Regions from separate parts of the Homo sapiens genome. Here region 2 is linked to region 1. The links are contacts of gene promoters, found by promoter capture Hi-C in human tissues and cell types (Jung and others, 2019). All regions are on one chromosome and are shown on one strand. Each heading gives the region's core, a stretch centred on a gene start or on the middle of the fragment in contact. The rest is flanking DNA. Distances are from core to core; before and after follow the strand shown. Region 1 holds the start of KCNC1 (potassium voltage-gated channel subfamily C member 1). Region 2 overlaps SERGEF (secretion regulating guanine nucleotide exchange factor).

Evidence for each region. Contacts are between HindIII fragments. The study calls those that stand out against the background at their distance.
Region 2: a fragment that was not itself captured here is called in contact with the fragment with the promoter of KCNC1 in region 1 in 6 of the 25 tissues and cell types used here (bladder, dorsolateral prefrontal cortex, heart right ventricle and 3 more).

What each region holds. Positions count from the first base shown.
Region 1 is chr11:17,731,368-17,736,030 of GRCh38, reverse strand. KCNC1 (potassium voltage-gated channel subfamily C member 1) reads right to left here and starts at 1,250. Exons shown (of 4, transcript NM_001112741.2): 1 at 1-1,250. The coding sequence starts at 28. RefSeq lists a silencer at 1,311-1,410. The HindIII fragment of the contact is 8,281 bases long and covers 1-4,663 here.
Region 2 is chr11:17,883,936-17,888,598 of GRCh38, reverse strand. The region is part of intron 9 of SERGEF (secretion regulating guanine nucleotide exchange factor); the gene reads left to right. Among named protein-coding and RNA genes, the nearest start is that of SERGEF, 130 kb to the left of the region's middle. The HindIII fragment of the contact is 4,469 bases long and covers 1-4,140 here.

The DNA of each region.
Region 1 (4,663 bases), core at 1-2,500:
TGCGCTCGCTCTCGTCCCCTTGGCCCATCGCGGCGCCCCCTTAGGCATGGCGCGGCCCAGCGACACCCATGGGAGCGGCCGCCAGGGGGAGTTGGCGCCGGGGAGGGGGGCGCGCGCCCTCTTCCCCCCTCCCCCCAGCCGTCGGGGGGAACAGAGGCCTGCGGCTCTGGCCACCCCAACGAGCGAGCCAAGCCTCTCCGGGCGCTTTGTCGGGTGCCGGTCCAGGGGAATGTGCGCGGGATCCCAGGGGTCTCTAGGAGCCAGATGTGGGAGGGAGCTGGTCCGGCAGCGGAGGAGGCAGAGGAGGAAAGAAGGGAGGGAGAAAGGGAGGGAGAAAGGGAGGGAGGGAGGGAGTGAGGGGGAAAGAGGGAGGGGGGCGGGCTCAGCAGCGAGCCCCGGGAGGTGGGGAAAATGGGTTGGGGGGCCGGGCTCCCGTCCCCATCTCCGCGGGAAAATGGAGAAATCGGCACAAAGCTTTTGGGGGAAAGGTCAGCCGCTCCCGGGGCCGGACTAGAGGCCAGCCCCCAGGAGGGGGAGGGGAGGAGACAGGGCCGGGAAATTCGCGCTCCTCTGTGAGGTGGTCGCCGCGGCGCGCTCTCGGCGCGGGGGAGATGGATGCCGCCTGCCTTCCTCCCTGCGTGGCCGGGCTGCAGCTCGGGACGCAGGGCGGGCTCCGGCCCCCTCCCTCTCTCCTTGCTTGGCTGCCTGCTCCCCCCGGCGGCGGGCCCGCCTGCCCGCCCGCCCTCCTCGTTCCTTCTCCCCGCCTCCTGGAGGAGATGGCGGGCCCCCTGGGCAGGGGCACCCGGGGTGTTGCTCGTGCGGCTAACGCCGAGCGCTGCTCTCCGTGAGCCCGGGCTCGAGCTGGGGTTCCGCTGGGCTGCGCTCGGACTTGGGCTCCCGCGGCGGTGCTGAAGGGACAGCTCCCGGCGGTCGCGGAGCTGCACGGGGCCAGGCGGGGGTTCTCCTGGCTGGGTTTGATTTGCGGGGCCGGCGGGCACTGGCTCCGGTGCCTCTGCGCCCCGCACTCCGCTCCTCGCTTCGGGCAGGCGGTGGGCGCTGCCGGCCGAGACGGGGGCTGCGGAGGTCGGGCGGGGAGGCGGGGGTGGCGGGTCCGGGCGCGGCGAGGTGAGGCCAGCGAGGCCGGTGAGGCGAGGCGCGGAGCGGCCGCTGCCGCCGCCGCCGCGACGCTGCTGCCGCCCGGGCTGCTGCTCCGCTTGCTGCTCGCCCGTCGCCTGCTCGTTCGCGCGGTCCGCGTCCAGCCCGCCGCTCTCCGGACACGGGCACACGGCGCGCGCAGCCGCACTCGCCCCCGGAGGAAGGCGCCGCGCTGGGTCCTAAAAAGCCCTGATTCCGCGCCCCCCTCCCAGCCCCGCACCGAGCCCGGCCTCCCTCAACCTCGGCGCTGGGGGCGCCCGCCCCGCGCGGCTCCTGCTGCTCCCGGGGGACCCGCCCACGGTCCGCCCTCGGGGAACGCCACTCCAGGGGCGGGGGCTCCGAGAGACGTCTGGGCCCGCGCCCCCGGGTCAGACTGAGGTGAGAAGGGCGTTGGCACCCTCCCCTTGCCTTCCAAACCAGGGACCATCTGATCCCTGGTGAGACAAAGCTCTCCCGGAGTTTTGTCATCAGAGACACCCTGGCCCGGACCAGTGCTGACCGCTCCAAGGAATCCTTTAATACCGACCCTTCTCGCGGAACCTGGAGGCCCCATGTTCCTTCCATGGGTAATGTCTTGCATGAACCCCAACACACACACACACACACACACACCACGTTATCCTCTACGCCCTCCACTAACAATCAATCCTGGACCCCTATTAACCCCTTTGGACTCCTTACTGACCCTGGGCCCTTTATAGCTTCAGACAGAGGGAGTCTCCCATGAGTGCCACATCCATCCAAGCTCACGGACTCTCCCACACTAACCCTGGATCCCTAGGTGGAGACCCCTTATGAAAAGGACCTTCTGCCCTCAGAGGTCAGAAGCAGCAACTGCTCGTAGTTTCCCTGAGCACTGACACCCCCACCCCGCACTTCCTAGGGCTTCAACTGCCCTGGGTGATAAGCTGGTGTTATGTCTGGGAGCTGGGTGGGAGCTGCTGCTTGCTGTGATTCCTCCATCTTCACAGTTGGTCCTGGGGGTGGGAGTTCCAGTTTGAACCTCAAAGCCTTCCTGGCCCATGCCTGCTGCTAGTGCCTTGGTTTACTCAGTAAAGCAATCACTCCTTTACTCCTTACTTGTTTCAGGATCCGTCCCAGGCACAAGGACACAAGAGATGAATCTGACCCAGCCTCTGGCCTTGAGAAGCTCCCAGCCTTCTGGGGAGGTGGCCAGGTGGGCCTAGGCAGGACTGGGGAGGTCAGGCCCGTCTCCAGGGGTGGCTGGGGTGGGAAAGAGGCTTATTGATCCCAGCTCAACCCAATCGAACACAGGATGCCTGGGCAAAGGGCGATTTAATTAAGAAGATATGAGGCTTTTATTACTGCTGGCACTTTCTAACTGTGCAGACAGCTGTCCCTCTACCCTGACCCACAGATGCCGTTGTGAGCCTGGGGACAAAGCTGTGCCACAGACATCGCTCTCCTTACTTGGCCAGGGGAATCCCAATCTAGCCACAGGAAAATCTGTGTGTGGTGGGTAAAAGGCTTGAAGGGGTGGAGAGGGGCAGGGCAAGGATTGACAGATGGGAATAGGACAAGGGGAGAGACAGAGAGGCTAAATTAAGTCAGAAATGGGCAGAGTTGGGCAGAGACAAAGAGAGGGTTGGATTTTGGGGCCTGCATGGCACCTCCTCCCTCCAGATATTGATCTGTGTGATTCCTCTAAATAGGAGCTGTTTCCCCTTCAATCTCAGAGTAATGCAGGGATGAGAGTGATTTTGAGTGTCCCTTTCACCCTGACCAGTGTGAGTCCCCATCTCCTAACCACAAGGAAGCCTGGCCTGGTGTGGCCCGGCCTGGTGTGGCCCATCCTGGCCCATATTCAGATCCCCGGGACATGGGTTCTCAGGAAATTCTGTCCCAACATTGGTAGAAGATGAAATAGAAATGGAGAATCCAGAAGGAAGAGAAAAAGGTGGACACAGAGGCAGACACATACACACACACACACACACACACACACACACACACACACACACACACACAGCTGGGAGAAATCAAGATGGGGAGAGACAAGAAAGCAGCCTCTCCAAACCTTCCTTTCTTTCTACCCAGATGTCCAGCCCCTCTTCTCACCCAAGAATCTTCTGGGATTCTACTAGCCATAGGGTTCCAGGACTTCACCTCTCTCTTCACCTGCAGAACCACACGGGATCAGAGTATGGCTCCTGATCTTCTCCATAGCTCATCTGATCTCCATAAAAGGACCATCAGCTCCTCCAGGGCTTCTTGTTTGCTTCCCTCCAGAGTGCCCAGAATACAGTAGATCCTCACTAAGGTCCAGATGATTTGAGAAAGGCTAGGAGAGAGGCTGGGATCCTAGAACCCAAGTGGCAGAGACTGTGGGAGTCTGGAACACCTAATGGAGACCAAGTCAGGAGGAGGGACTTACCCAGGGTTTTTTAGGGAATCAGTGCAGGGCCCCATCACTACGCCATGGCGAGTCCTAATAGGGGGCTGCAGTGTGACCCAGGCAGTTGGGGAGGGGGCACAGAGAGACAGAGAGAAACAAGGGGCTCCTGGTAGGCAGAAGGTTGGGTGATTAGGGGCTCTGGACGATGTGTTAGAAAGAGGGAGGTAGGCCAGGGTTGGAGGCAGAAGGAATGTGAAAGGGTATTCATTGCACCCTAAAGCCCATTACACCCTAAAATCCCCCAAGAGGTAAGCAGAGAAAACTCAGACACAGGAGCCTCCCCAGCAGGAGAGGGTAGCTGTTCCCAATGTGCCCCACACTGTTCCACTTTAGGATTCTCACTTTGATCCCTGATGACACACCCCCAGCCCAGGCCCCAAAGAATGGCCTCCCTTGTGGATCCTGAACAGGACATCAAACTTTCTTCTCTCACTTCCCCTTCACACTGCGAGAATGCTAGCATTTGCAAACAGCCTAGGAAAACCAAGAGGGCAACACAGAAGAAATCAACAAAAACCAAAAACCAGAAAACAGAGAAACAGAGGGTTTTGGGGGGAAATAGGAGGAAGAATGACTAACCATTCCCTAGCTTCTCACTCGCAAACACTAACGACAGACCCCCAGCTAGACTGAAAACCTCACTCCTTTTCCACTTTGGAGCAGCACCTCCTATTCGCAGCCATTTGCCCCTCCCTTGCAGAAGAAAGCTTGTGGTCTGGTGCCAGAGGGTCTTTGGTAGCTGGGGCTGGTGGGGGTGGGAGCAGTTGTGGTGTGGTATGTTCAGTGGCTAAGAGCACAGACTTTAAAACCAGACTGCCTGGATTCAAATCCCAGCTCCAGTACTGACTAGCTGTGACCTTGGGCAAGTTACTCAACTTCTCTGTGCCTCGTTTTTTGCTTTTACTGTTGTATTGAAATAATAATAATAACTCCTGTATCCTTAACATCTAAGTTCTAGAATTTCTCTTGTTTAGGCCCAAGGAGGGATTGCTGGGCTTCAGTAAGCTTCATGTAGGAAAGGCTAGAATATAAGCTGGTGTTGGGAGTGGACTAAAAAAAAGGTGAAGGGAGTTCTGAAGCCAAGTTTGGCCT
Region 2 (4,663 bases), core at 657-3,156, 150 kb before region 1:
TTCTAACCTGATATCCACAGGGTTTCTCTTTGCCTTCTCTCATTCTATATTTGTGTTTCCTTCAACTACAGTGAGCATTCTGGCTCCTAGCAACATTCATATATTTCCTCATTTGCATGGTCCCACAATATATACAAAATACTTTCAGAATTGATACACGCATGCAATGAAAGAAAATAACCTACAAAGTAGTTAAATTTTTTTTGCATTGTTTGTTTGTAAACAGAAGTTATTTAGTCAAAGTACTGTGTTCAAGAGTTATTCTGACCCCCTTCAGAGCAGTTATATTATTTATTTGAAATCAGTTTTGCCTACTTTTGAGTTTCATATTATTATTCTTAAAGATTTACTTATGTTGTGAATATCAATATTTCCCCCCACTGCTGTAAAGCAGCAGTCCCCAACCTTTTTGGCACTAGGGGCCGGTTTCCTGGAAGAGGTGGGGATGGGATGGTTTCGGGATGAAACTGTTCCACCTCAGATCACCAGGCATTAGTTAGAGTCTCATAAGGATTGCGCAGCCTAGATCCCTCCCACGCGGAGTTCACAATAGGGTTTGTGCTCATATGAGAATCTAATGCCACCGCTGATCTGACAGGAGGCGGAGCTCAGATGGTAATGTGAGCGATGGGAAGCAGCCGTAAATACAGATGAAGCTTCGCTCCCTTGCCTGCTGCTTACCTCCTGCTGTGTGGCCTGGTTCCTAACAGGCCGTGGAATTTTACCAGTCTGCAGCCTAGGGGTTGGGGACCCCTGCTGTAAAGTATTCTGAATGAACTACACTGTATCCATTATACTGATGATGAATATTTGTGTTATTTCATATTTTTATTATGAATAAAACTGCTATGAACATGCTTGTACATGCCTTTTGATAGAAGTAAGCAATAATTTATTTTGGGTACTTGAGTGTCCACATATGTGTTTAGCTTTAGTAGATACTGCCAGACAGTTTTTCCAAGCAGTTGTTGAATTTACACTCCCGTCAGCAGTGTAAGAGTTCCAGTTATTTCACATCCTCGTTAGTACTTGGTGTTGACAGTCTTTTAATTTTAACCTATCATGGCTACTAGGGAAAGGGTTAAATTGTTTCTGAGAAGCCTGCCATAGGATATTTACCTGGCCTGAATCTATTAATTGCCTGTCTTTTAGTTTGATTGTCCAACTCACATGGTTCCATTTTGTTCTCAGTACAAGTACTGAGTAACTTAAGTAACTTGGTGGCATGCCTTTACTGAAATCCAGATGTATTGTTGTGTTAGGCTTTTTTAGTTGGCAAGGACCAGAGATATTAGCAGATTATTATTGTGAAGACTGTATTGTACTTTAGCATAAGTGAGGAAAACAGGTGAAGCAAATGCCTTATAAAAGAACAATGGGAAAGTCATTTAGAACCCAAGGCAACTCAAAAGCCTAAACCTTCTTGAGCCCTCAGCAGTAGGATCTATTGATTCTTCCTTTAGAACTCACATCCTGGTGACTTAGCTTCACTTTACTGTTCCTTCCTGCTGCTTCTGACTCCTCTGCTTGTACCTCCTCCTCATCTTAACCTTCCTTGTGTCTATTTCTTCCAGCTACTGCTCCAGCTACCAACTGGAGGACTCACTCCCTAGAACTGTTTCAAGGCAGAATTTTCACTAAGCCGTTTCACAGGCTGTGGTCAATCTATGCATTAATCCACATTGAGACAGGTGTCCATCCATAGTCCAATTAGGTTTGGCCCCAGGAAGCAGGACTGCATGGTATCAACACGGCCATTTATGATGAAGACATTCCCTTAGAAGGGCACTATGGGAAAAGCAAGCAGTCTGACTGCCTGGCTAGTTTAATTGTATATATTATAGCCTAATTACTGTGTATATTATATTCTAATTCAGTAGACATTTCTCAAGCCCTCTCCTTATCTGTCAATAAACTATTGGAAAAGGAAATGAACTGTTTATACTGAAGAAGGTTTTTTTGTTTGTTTGTTTTGTTTTGTTTTTAGTCTCGCTTTTAGTACTCGCCCAGGCTGGAGTACAGTGGTATGATCTCGGTTCACTGCAACCTTCGCCTCCCAGGTTAAGTGATCCTACCACACCACTTCAGTCTTCCAACTAGCTGGGACTACAGGCACACTTCACCACGCCGGGCTAATTTTGTTGTATTTTCTGTAGAGACAGGGTTTCGCCATGTTGCCCAGGCTGGTCTTGAACTCATGAGCTCAAGCTATCTGCTTGCCTCAGCCTCCTAAAGTGCCGGGATTACAGATGTGTGCCACCGTGTCCAGCTTGAAGAACTCTTCATAGTGAACCTATGCCAGTTGCTAATGCTTATAGTCTCCTTTCATATGTTCTCAAATAATATATAAGTCCTAAAATGTATCTGTAGAACAGGGTCAAGCCCAAAGTGAATTTTATTCTGTAGATAGCAGAGGTTAGGATGCGTGAGGTATACCTGGTTGTTTGAATTCCGTTTTACAGATGAGGGAACTGAGGGCCAGAGGGAGGCAAAGAGATTTACCCAAAGTCACATGGCTAGGAAGTGGGGGCGGGGGGCATCAGGACTTAAATCCAGGTTTTCTGGTTCCATATCCAGAACTCTCTCCATTACCTCACACTGACATGCCCCATACTCGTGTCCAAGCTGTTAAAAGCACAAAGGAGATTTGATAAAAGCAAACTATAGCCAAGGCAAGTGGTGAGAATTGAGAGGAGGCAGATCTCCTAAAGGCTGAGGTGATCTGGGGGACTGCCTCAGGTTTTGAACTAGGCCTTGTAGAGTTGGTTGGATTTAGAATGGTATGGAGAAGGGAGAATGGTACAAATGAAGATACAAAAGTGGGGGAAATGAGATTTTTCCAGAGACAGAAAAGAGACTCGTGTTGCTGGGTTAGAGGGTTTATTTAGGAAAGGAGTGGTAAAATGTGTGTTAAACAGTAATGAGACTTTGATAACTGTGACAACTTTAATTAAAAAAAAAATCAGATCATGCCCATGCATGTACGGTGGGTCATGCCTGTTATCCCAGAACTTTGAGAGGCCGAGGGAGGAGGGTCGCTTGAAGCCAGGAGTTCAAGCAGTCTGGACAACATGATGAGATCCTGTTCCTACAAGAAGTAAAAAAAAAAATTGGCCAGGCATAGTGGTGTGTACCTGTAGTCCTCGCTACTCAGGAAGCTAAGGCAGAAGGGTCGCTTGAGCCCAGGAATTCGAGGTTATAGTGAGCTAGGTTCACACCACTGCACTCCAGCCTGGGCAATAGAGCAAGACCCTGTCTCTAAAAACAAAAACAGATCAGATCATGATATTATGGTGAGAAGAAAGCTTAAAGTCATTGGTTGCTAAGACTCCAGGCTGAGGCGAAAAGGACTAAACTAAGATGATAGCAGCTGGAAATAAGTCAGACTTGAGAACCATTGAGAAGGCAGGATTAACAGGATCTGGAGACAGCCTAAATATAAGGGTGGGAGAGAGATAAGGAAAAGAGTTAGAACTGTCACTTGAGAGTTTGAGCCTTTGTGACAGGGACACTCTGTATCAAAAGAGGAGAGTATCAGAGGAGGAGGAGGCAGTATGTGTAGTGAGTTAGCTTACAGGCTTTGGACCAAAGCAGACCTGGGACCAGTGACTTAACTGCTCTGAGCGGGTTTGCTGGCCTGCTATGTAGGGAGACAGATTCCCACTTCTCAGAGTGGCTGTGAAGATGGGAGGTATTGCAGGTAAAGTGAAATTCTATAATGTCACATGCTTGACATCCAGGCACTTAACCAAACTTTAGCTCTCTTCTTCTCACCCCAACTTCTCTGGAAGATAGCAGAACCTAGTTCAAGCTCATTTTTTTCACAGGCATACATACAATGTGCTTTTTTTAAAAATGTATATATAACATATACACATATATATGAAATAAAATACAAATTCAAGCCCACAGAGAGAGTTAAAGATATCTTAGTAAGGCTAGGTTCTTCCAGAAGCAAACAGCCGTGCTGCCTCTCTGGTGTCGCCATGGCCTTCCCCAGTTGGGACCATTTCTGAGCTTAGAGGTGGAACTCTGGTGGCTCACTGGATTGCAGTGTGCCTGTAAAACGTGCCCAGCTTCCAAGCACTGCGTTTCTAATAGTTTGGAAATTCTGGTTGTCACCCCAGAGATACACGGATGGAAACCGGGTTTGGGCAGAGCTCTAGCAAAGGCGGCACCGAGACGCCCATTCCCTCGCCCTGTTAACCCAGGCGGCGCAGGCTGCCCAGCCAGCTGGGGCTGCCATTCTGGAGCTGCTTCTGGTACGCTTCTCCCACCCTGGCGGCTGTGCCCGCCAAGGGCTCGCAGTGCGGCACAGAGCATAACCCAGTACCGTACCAACCTAAACCCCGTTACTCCCCTTCCACCCTGGCCATCATGTGTTTCCGCACGTACGCCTCGTTGCCATAGCACCTGAAGGCGCCCGGGCTCATTGGCACCCGGCGAGAACCAATCAGCAGGCCTCGCTGTCCATCTGGCACCCTGGGTGGCCTTTGGGCTGCGGCTGGCTACCCCTCTCTGGTAGAGGAAAGCGGCCCCTGGCTGGTGGCGTGGGGCTGGCCTCGCCTCACTTCCTCTCCTTGGCGTACCTGACCCTGAGTTCTGGTCCGCAACCCGGTGTTCGTTTCCCACCCCACTCTTCCGCGCCCCGATTTCCCCGTTT